3 separate regions of the Homo sapiens genome follow, and regions 1 and 2 are each linked to region 3. Evidence: promoter capture Hi-C in 16 types of primary human blood cells and fetal thymus (Javierre and others, 2016). All regions are on one chromosome and are shown on one strand. Each heading gives the region's core, a stretch centred on a gene start or on the middle of the fragment in contact. The rest is flanking DNA. Distances are from core to core; before and after follow the strand shown. Region 1 overlaps MAN1B1 (mannosidase alpha class 1B member 1). Region 2 holds the start of GRIN1 (glutamate ionotropic receptor NMDA type subunit 1). Region 3 holds the start of TMEM141 (transmembrane protein 141).

What was found. The method cuts DNA at HindIII sites, captures the fragments that hold promoters and counts their contacts. A CHiCAGO score of 5 or more calls a contact.
Region 1: a fragment that was not itself captured here is called in contact with the fragment with the promoter of TMEM141 in region 3 in 5 of 17 cell types (naive CD8 T cells, total CD8 T cells, non-activated CD4 T cells and 2 more); the score reaches 10.3 in naive CD8 T cells.
Region 2: the fragment with the promoter of GRIN1 here is called in contact with the fragment with the promoter of TMEM141 in region 3 in 1 of 17 cell types (erythroblasts); the score reaches 6.0 in erythroblasts.

The regions. Positions count from the first base shown.
Region 1 is chr9:137,098,717-137,101,458 of GRCh38, forward strand. MAN1B1 (mannosidase alpha class 1B member 1) reads left to right here. Exons shown (of 13, transcript NM_016219.5): 6 at 980-1,165; 7 at 2,289-2,437. Among named protein-coding and RNA genes, the nearest start is that of MAN1B1, 13 kb to the left of the region's middle. The HindIII fragment of the contact is 8,732 bases long and covers 1-2,742 here.
Region 2 is chr9:137,137,631-137,140,698 of GRCh38, forward strand. It overlaps GRIN1 (glutamate ionotropic receptor NMDA type subunit 1), which reads left to right and starts at 1,524. Exons shown (of 20, transcript NM_007327.4): 1 at 1,524-2,114. The coding sequence starts at 1,857. RefSeq lists a silencer at 1,067-1,361. The HindIII fragment of the contact is 14,343 bases long and covers 1-3,068 here.
Region 3 is chr9:136,789,909-136,792,608 of GRCh38, forward strand. It overlaps TMEM141 (transmembrane protein 141), which reads left to right and starts at 1,436. Exons shown (of 5, transcript NM_032928.4): 1 at 1,436-1,516; 2 at 1,803-1,869; 3 at 2,039-2,122; 4 at 2,343-2,450. The coding sequence starts at 1,463. RefSeq lists a silencer at 823-1,862. The HindIII fragment of the contact is 4,968 bases long and covers 1-2,700 here.

The DNA.
Region 1 (2,742 bases), core at 243-2,742, 310 kb after region 3:
CAATGTTGGCCGGGCGTGGTGGCTCACACTTGTAATCCCAGCACTTTGGGAGGCTGAGGTAGAAGGATCTCTTGAGTCCAGGAGTTCAAGACCAGCCTGGACAACACAGTGAGGCCCCATCTCTACAAAAAAAAAAGAAATTTATATATATGTGTATATTTGAGACAGAGTCTTGCTTTGTCACTTCACTGCAACGTCTGCCTTCTGGGTTCAAGCAAGTCTCCTGCCTCAGCCTCCCTAGTAGCTGGGATTATAGGCACCCGCCACCACACCTGGCTAATTTTTGTATTTTTAGTAGAGACGGGGTTTCGCGATGTTGGCGAGGCTGGTCTCAAACTTCTGACCTCAGGTGATCTGCCCACCTCGGCCTCCCAGAGTACTGGGATTACAGGCGGGAGCCACCGTGCCCAGCCAAAAAAATTTAAAAAAAGGGAACGAAGGGACTGTAGCGCGTGTGCACAGTGCGATTCCCGTGGAGCACCTGAAGCCCACGTGGCAGAAGGAGCGTGTTTGAGTCGAGGATGTTCATCGCGAGGTCTGCACCCGTCCGTGTTTCACATTCTGAGTTGGCACCACACTCACCCACGTCTCCACAGGCTGTGCTCACTGTGCTGTCCCAGCGCCCTTGGGGCAGCCACCCTTGTCCCTTTGGCCAGAGGCCACCGAGGCCCAAGGAGGGTGTGCCTGCCCAGGCGCCAGGTGGAGGTGCATGGGCCCCAGTCAGGTGGTCGGGTGACAGGTGCCATCCTGTGCAGTCTCCAGAGGTCTCAGGCCCTTGGCAGGCTGTGTTCTCCCTGGGGGCTGCTGCAGCCTCTGTGGCCCTGGCCTTTGCTGTGCCCACCACCGCCCTTCCCGTCGTCCCAAACCCACCGTCATCTTTGCCCCATGGGGGTCACAGCAGTGCTCTGCCTGAGGGTGTCCATCTGTGCCGACGCCAGGACCACGTCCGCCATGGCCTGTGCTCTCTCCCCCCTACTAGTGCATCTGAACTATCGCCAGAAGGGCGTGATTGACGTCTTCCTGCATGCATGGAAAGGATACCGCAAGTTTGCATGGGGCCATGACGAGCTGAAGCCTGTGTCCAGGTCCTTCAGTGAGTGGTTTGGCCTCGGTCTCACACTGATCGACGCGCTGGACACCATGTGGATCTTGGGTCTGAGGAAAGGTACCTGGTGCTTTCTGGGGAGGGGCTGAGCCCTCCGTGTGGGCCTCGTGTGCTGAGGCAGAGTGTGGGTTGCACACGGGGTGAAAGCTGCTGTTTGCATCTGACCATGGGTTTTCCCTTCTCCTGGGTGCGGGAGTGGACGTGTTGGCTGTGGTCAGTTCCTGTTCTTGTCCAGCCACCCAAGGCACACACAGGGCCGCTGTCCCCAGACCTCTGCAGGAGTTGAGTGTGGACTCTTTGGGGGACGTCCAAGGGACATTCCCAGGCTGTGCTTCTCTTGCAGCTGGGGGTGGTGGGATGAGTGACTGTGGGGCCCCGCTGGTCCCAGATCTCAGCAGCATCCTTCATAGACCAGCACATCCACTTTGAATTGGGAGTATGTGTCTTCGGTTATTTAAGCGATAATTTAAACATTTGCCTAATTTTTTGAATAGGTTGAAGACCACCAGTAAACGACGTGTGTAATTTTTTTGGGTCGTAGCCTTTGGTTGTGACCCATTGGTGGCCATAGCAACTGCACTGCTGACTCCGTTTTATTAACAAATGTTGACGACTTCAAGATTTACCCCCTTGAGATAGGAGGTGATATTGAAGCCCTGCAGGGGAACGATAACGCCCCAGACATGGGTTTGGTTTTTTGTTTTTGTTTTTTTGTTTTTGAGATGGAGTCTTTCACTGTCTCCTGGGCTGGAGTGCAATGGCGCAATCTCGGCTCATTGCAACCTTGGCCTCCTGGTTTCAAACGTGGGTTTTTTGGAGACAGAGTCTAGTGGTGTGGCCCAGGCTGGAGTGCAGTGGCACGATCTCAGTTCACTGCAGCCTTCGCCTCCCGGGTTCAAGCTATTCTCATGCCTCACCCTCCCCAGTAGTTGGGACCACAGGCATGCGCCACCATACTCAGCTAATTTTTGTGTTTTTAGTAGAGATGGGGTTTTCCCATGTTGTCCAGGCTGGTCTCTAACTCCTGGGCTCAAGCAATCCACTTGCCTCAGCCTCCCAAAGTGCTGGGATTACAGGCATGAGCCACCACGCCCAGCCAAATGTATTTTGAAGATGGATAGATAATAGGAAAACGTTGGAGCCATCCATTTGTCTCTGCATCCTTTACTGTTTTATGTCATAGAATTTGAGGAAGCCAGGAAGTGGGTGTCGAAGAAGTTACACTTTGAAAAGGACGTGGACGTCAACCTGTTTGAGAGCACGATCCGCATCCTGGGGGGGCTCCTGAGTGCCTACCACCTGTCTGGGGACAGCCTCTTCCTGAGGAAAGCTGTAAGTGTCTTGGGGTGTCCTGCAGGGAGATGGTGGACTCGCATTCAAGCAGTTACCCCTTTAGTGGACTTGTGGGGACGTGACTGTCTTCCTGTTTCCTCTTCAAATGCACTGGAGTCTGTTTCTGAGCTCATATTCGTGAGCTGATGAAGCCACTTTGATCACCACTGGCCTTGTAGAGACATTCACTCAGTGCAGAGTGATGCCCGTTTCCTTGCTGCTGTGTTGACCCCAGAGAGCCTTCAGTGTCTCCACTGAACTGCATGAAAGGGTGTAGACGAGGCCTCTGGGTGACCTGAACGTTG
Region 2 (3,068 bases), core at 274-2,773, 350 kb after region 3:
AGTCTCCCAAGTAGCTGGGATTACAAATGCCTGCCGCCACGCCCGGCTAATTTTTGTATTTTTAGTAGAGACAGGGTTTCACCATGTTGGCCAGGCTGGTCTCGAACTCCTGACCTTAGGTGATCCACCTGCCCTTGCCTCCCAAAGTATTGAGATTACAGGCATGAGCCACTGTGCCCTGCCGAGGTGGAAGTTTGGAGATGGGCCACAAACTCCTGGAGATAGGGCCAGCTCAGTCCCCCTGAGCACCCACACACACCCTCCTGAGAGCCAACAGAAGGAGTGAGGGCCCCGAGGCGGATGACCCGTGTGCCTCAACCCGAACGGGGAGAGGCGGGGTCTGCAGCAGGGTACGGGCAGGTGATCCCCCAAGGAAAGATTTTCCTGTATTGAGAGAGAAGGGGCCAAGAGGAGGAGCTTGTCAAACACCACAGCCCCTCCCCCTCCTCTCAGCTCCAGGGGGTCCCTGGTGCCAGTGTTCGGCTGATGGAGAGAACGGCAAGCGGGAGAGAGAGTGTGACCCCTGTGGGCACATGACTTCCCTTGCTGCACTGCTGCACATAGCAGAGGTGTGGTGACGACCCTGTTTTGTCCCATTGGGGGCGTTTGCTGTTAGGTCTGCAGAATCCTCAGTTGCTATTGGAAATGGTGACATCACTGGCAGGGGCGGAGCTTCAGCCATCCTTCAAGTTAGGGAGGGGCACGCACACTCCAGGGGTGGAGGGGGACAAAGACAGGGTGGTGTGGACCAGAGGGATGGGTAAGGCTCTGGAAAAGGGGGCGCTGGGAGCGCATTGCGAGGGGGCTGGAGAGGGAGAGAGGAGCGGAAGCTGAGGGTGTGAAACGGCTGGCCCCGAACACACCTCGCGGCGCTCCAGTGATTCCTGGTGTCCGACCTCAGCCCCAGTCAGTGCGGGTCCAGTTTCCAGGCTCTCGCGGAAGGCCTGGCTGAGCACATGCGGCAGCCACGGTCACCCTCCCTATTCCTCTTAGCCCGAGGAGGGGGGTCCCAAGTTACATGGCCACGCAGATGGGGCCTCTCCCTCATTTCTGAACCTTGTGGGGAGGGGAACCTTGAAGGGAGCGCCCCCCAGAGCCATGGCTTAGGGCCTCCCCCACCCCTCTGGAGCTCCAGTCTGCAAGAGTCAGGAGCCGAAATATCGCTGACTGTGGGTGACGACTCTTGCGCGCACACACACATACAAGCGGGCACGACGCGTTCGGTCCTATTAAAAGGCACGCAAGGGTGCGGGCTGCACGCGGTGACACGGACCCCTCTAACGTTTCCAAACTGAGCTCCCTGCAGGTCCCCGACAGCACAGGCCCCTGTCCCAGGACCCCTCCAGGCACGCGCTCACACGCACACGCGCGCTCCCCGGCTCACGCGCGCTCCGACACACACGCTCACGCGAACGCAGGCGCACGCTCTGGCGCGGGAGGCGCCCCCTTCGCCTCCGTGTTGGGAAGCGGGGGCGGCGGGAGGGGCAGGAGACGTTGGCCCCGCTCGCGTTTCTGCAGCTGCTGCAGTCGCCGCAGCGTCCGGACCGGAACCAGCGCCGTCCGCGGAGCCGCCGCCGCCGCCGCCGGGCCCTTTCCAAGCCGGGCGCTCGGAGCTGTGCCCGGCCCCGCTTCAGCACCGCGGACAGCGCCGGCCGCGTGGGGCTGAGCCCCGAGCCCCCGCGCACGCTTCAGCGCCCCTTCCCTCGGCCGACGTCCCGGGACCGCCGCTCCGGGGGAGACGTGGCGTCCGCAGCCCGCGGGGCCGGGCGAGCGCAGGACGGCCCGGAAGCCCCGCGGGGGATGCGCCGAGGGCCCCGCGTTCGCGCCGCGCAGAGCCAGGCCCGCGGCCCGAGCCCATGAGCACCATGCGCCTGCTGACGCTCGCCCTGCTGTTCTCCTGCTCCGTCGCCCGTGCCGCGTGCGACCCCAAGATCGTCAACATTGGCGCGGTGCTGAGCACGCGGAAGCACGAGCAGATGTTCCGCGAGGCCGTGAACCAGGCCAACAAGCGGCACGGCTCCTGGAAGATTCAGCTCAATGCCACCTCCGTCACGCACAAGCCCAACGCCATCCAGATGGCTCTGTCGGTGTGCGAGGACCTCATCTCCAGCCAGGTGCCCTCCCCCACCTCCGCCACCCACCTCCCCTCTCCTCCATCCTGCAACCCCACACCCCCAGTTTCATTCCATCCTTTCCGTGCCCCCTTCCTCCCTGTAAGACACCACCCCAGAGTCAGCTGGCTGCTTCCGGGAGGCCTCGTCTCACTAGGAACCAAACACCAGGGTCTGCTGGCTCCCCTATCTTGGCCTGAGACCAGTCACCTGCCACCTTGGCTGGTCCTCAGAGGGCCCCTGGGGCTCCAGGCCCTGACTGGTGTGTGTAGACGTGGGGCTGGAGTGTGTCAGTGTGGGGGTGGGCATTCCGGGTAAGAGAGTAGAAGCGCCTGTCCAGCTACATGCCCGCCCTGCAGAGCTTTAAACAGGACGGGGCCTGGGGCCATCTTTGTTTCTGCTTCCAGGTTCTCCTGCCCTTTCTTTCGTCCCTTCCCCCTACCGATGGGTCCGCCTGGGAAGAGAAATGGCTCAGGTGCCACGGCAGGACGCTTTGTGGGGGTGGGAGTGGGGGTGCACACGCGAGAGGCATCAGGGCATGGGAGCTGTCGGCAGCCAGCGCTGCGGGGGAGGACGTGGCTCCTGGGATTTTGCCTGTCGGAGCTGTCCGCCCCTGGGCCGAGCGCCTGCTGAATTCCAATGAGGCTGCAAGGATCTGCAATGCAGCCCTTTATGTAAGAGGCAAGACAGACATCCAGCCTAGCACCGCTCACACGTGCCTACCTGATGGACACACCACATCTGTGGACACACATGCTCACACTCACACCAAATGTTACATTAGCACACACTCATGCACCTCAGCATCACACAATCAATTTCATATGCTCATCTGCACACATGCAGATCCATTGACACCTGCTCATGTGCCACACACGGCTTGGCATGCATTCCCAGAGGCACGTGCAAACATGCACATTTACACACATGGTTCCAGTCATTCACACGCATGTACAC
Region 3 (2,700 bases), core at 186-2,685:
GTCTCACTCTGTCGCCCAGGCTGGAGTGCAGTGGCACGATCTTGGCTCCCTGCAACCTCCACCTCCCAGGTTCAAGTGATTCTCCTGCCTCAGCCTCCCCAGTACCTGGGATTATAGGCACCTGCCACCACGCCCGGCTAATTTTTGTATTTTTAGTAGAGACGGGGTTTCACCATCTTGGCCAGGCTAGTATTTAACTCCTGACCTTGTGATCCACCTGCCTCGGCCTCCCAAGGTGCTGGGATTACAGGCGTAAGCCACCGCACCTGGCCAAGATTTCATCTTTTTACCTCATATTTCTTAGGAATTTAATGGTTATATGTTGTCTTTTTTCCCATGCCTTTTGGCTCAAGCAACACGTATATCAGTGTTGACTTTTTCTTTCTTTGATCTAGTTTAAAAAAAAAAACCACATAATAATTCTTTGAAGAAAGGAAGGGGTTAATTTTTTTCCCTAGCACTTTCTTGAAGATCAGGGACTTTATCGATGAAAAAGTAGTAAATAGTTATTTGTAACCTGTGTGAAGCAGCAGCCTGACTTGAAGTCCTCCGTTCTTGCTAATGGTTACACCAGTGAATACTAGTGGAATTGTTTGGGCTGATTTTAGTTTCTCTTAATCAAAATTACTAGATGATAGAATTCAAGAACTTGTACATGTTATTACTTGGTGTATCGATAATTATTTGAAAGTAAAGACTCTTTGTCATGCAAAACAAAAGGAGTTTGAGGCTCAGCTACTAAGCTGCTGGTTACAGAACCACTTTGCTAAACAGTGATTTTATACATCCCCACTCCGTGGTGGCTTATGAGAAATTCAATCCCTGATTGTAGTCCTCAAGCAAAATAACACTGACAATCATCAGGCCTCTGCAAGTGTGGGAATGAGGCCCGGCCGGGGGGAGGAGCGCACGCTCTCAGCCACGCCCCGCCCGGTGCCCGCCTTCGCCCCGCCCAGTCGTCGCCGGAGGTCACAGGGCCCAAGCTCCTAGAGGCGTGGCCAGGCCCCAGGCCCCACCCCTCTCCCCTGCGCTCTAGCAGGCTCGATCCATGCTCCGCCCCCAATCCAAGGCCCTGGCCCCTCCGCCTGCACCCGGCAGGACCCGCCTCTTAGAACCCGACACCTCCGCCTGCGCAGGCCCGCTCCCCGGTCCTGTCTCTCAGGCCCCGCCCCCAGGTCGCGTCTCCAAAGTCCCGTCTCTCAGGCCCCGCCCCCAGATCACGTCTCCCAGGTCCCGCCCCCTCCGCCTGCTGCCGCGCGGACCCGCCCTCAGGCGCCGTCTCCTAGGCCCCGCCCCCTCCGCCTGTTCCAGCGCGGGCCGGTCCCTAGGCCTCGCCCCCAGATCCGGGCCCTGCCCCTCCGTCCGTAACTGCGCAGGCCTGTCCTCTGGGCCACACCCCCAGGTTCCCGTCCCGCCCTTCCGCCTGCGCCTGCGCAGGCCCGCTCCCCGAGCCCTGCCAACCATGGTGAACTTGGGTCTGTCCCGGGTGGACGACGCCGTGGCTGCCAAGCACCCGGTGAGAAGGCCGGTCTGGGACGCGGGCCTCAAACCCCAGAAGCTGACCTGAGCGAGGCGGGGGGCCGGGGCGTGGGGGTGCCCTCGTCAGGGAAGAGTGGCGGAGGCTGGGGGCACTCTCTTGCTAAGGGGCTCAGGGCGTCCGGGTGGGCATAGGGGAGGTGGGACGTGTCCAAGCGCCCAGGGTCTCACTCCTCCACAGCCAGGGTGTGCCCAGAGGAGGGACAGGAGAGGCGGTGAAGGAAGAGGGCAGGGGATCGAGCCTTCACCCGCCTCTGCCACCCCAGGGACTCGGGGAGTATGCCGCATGCCAGTCACACGCCTTCATGAAGGGCGTTTTCACCTTCGTCACAGGTAGGCTGCGTCCAGGTGTCCTGCGGCTGGGAGAGAACGCACCCTCCCGCCCTGCCCTGACTCCCCAGCAGGGGGCGCCAAGTCACCTGCCCGCAGGTGCTGGGGGCCTGGCAAGGTGGGCCCTGGCTATCCCCGGGTACAGGTTGATGGGGACCTCGGCTCTTTGCAGGCACCGGCATGGCCTTTGGCTTGCAGATGTTCATTCAGAGGAAGTTTCCATACCCTTTGCAGTGGAGCCTCCTAGTGGCCGTGGGTGGGTACTCCAGGGCCCCTGCCTGGGCTCTTTGAGGGGTGGGTTTCTGCTAGGGTTGGGGCTGTGGTTCTGCGTCCCTGACTCTGACATGGAGCCCCAGGTCTCGGCGGGAGCCCCACCTGAGCCCACCCACCACGTCTGTCAGGAAGTAGCCTGTGCCCGGTTCTCTTAGCCTGGGAAGCACAGAGGCCCCAGCCCTCTTCCATTTCCTGCTCCACAGTTGCAGGCTCTGTGGTCAGCTACGGGGTGACGAGAGTGGAGTCGGAGAAATGCAACAACCTCTGGCTCTTCCTGGAGACCGGGCAGCTCCCCAAAGACAGGAGCACAGGTGAGAGAGCCTGGGGGTTAGCGAGAAGTGAATGCCACCTCTCCAGCACCCAGAGTTTTGGGCAGCCAAGCCTGGGTGCACCATGCGATAGGCTAGACAAGGTCCCTCCCTCTGGCCCGGCCTCCTCAGCATGTGACTGCCAGATGGGTTGGAGCTGGGGGTGGGCGCAGTAGACAGATCTTGGAGAGCTCCCTTTGAGGAGAAAGAACCAAGAGGGGCTGGGGTGCCCCTGAGATTGAGAGGAAGGGTG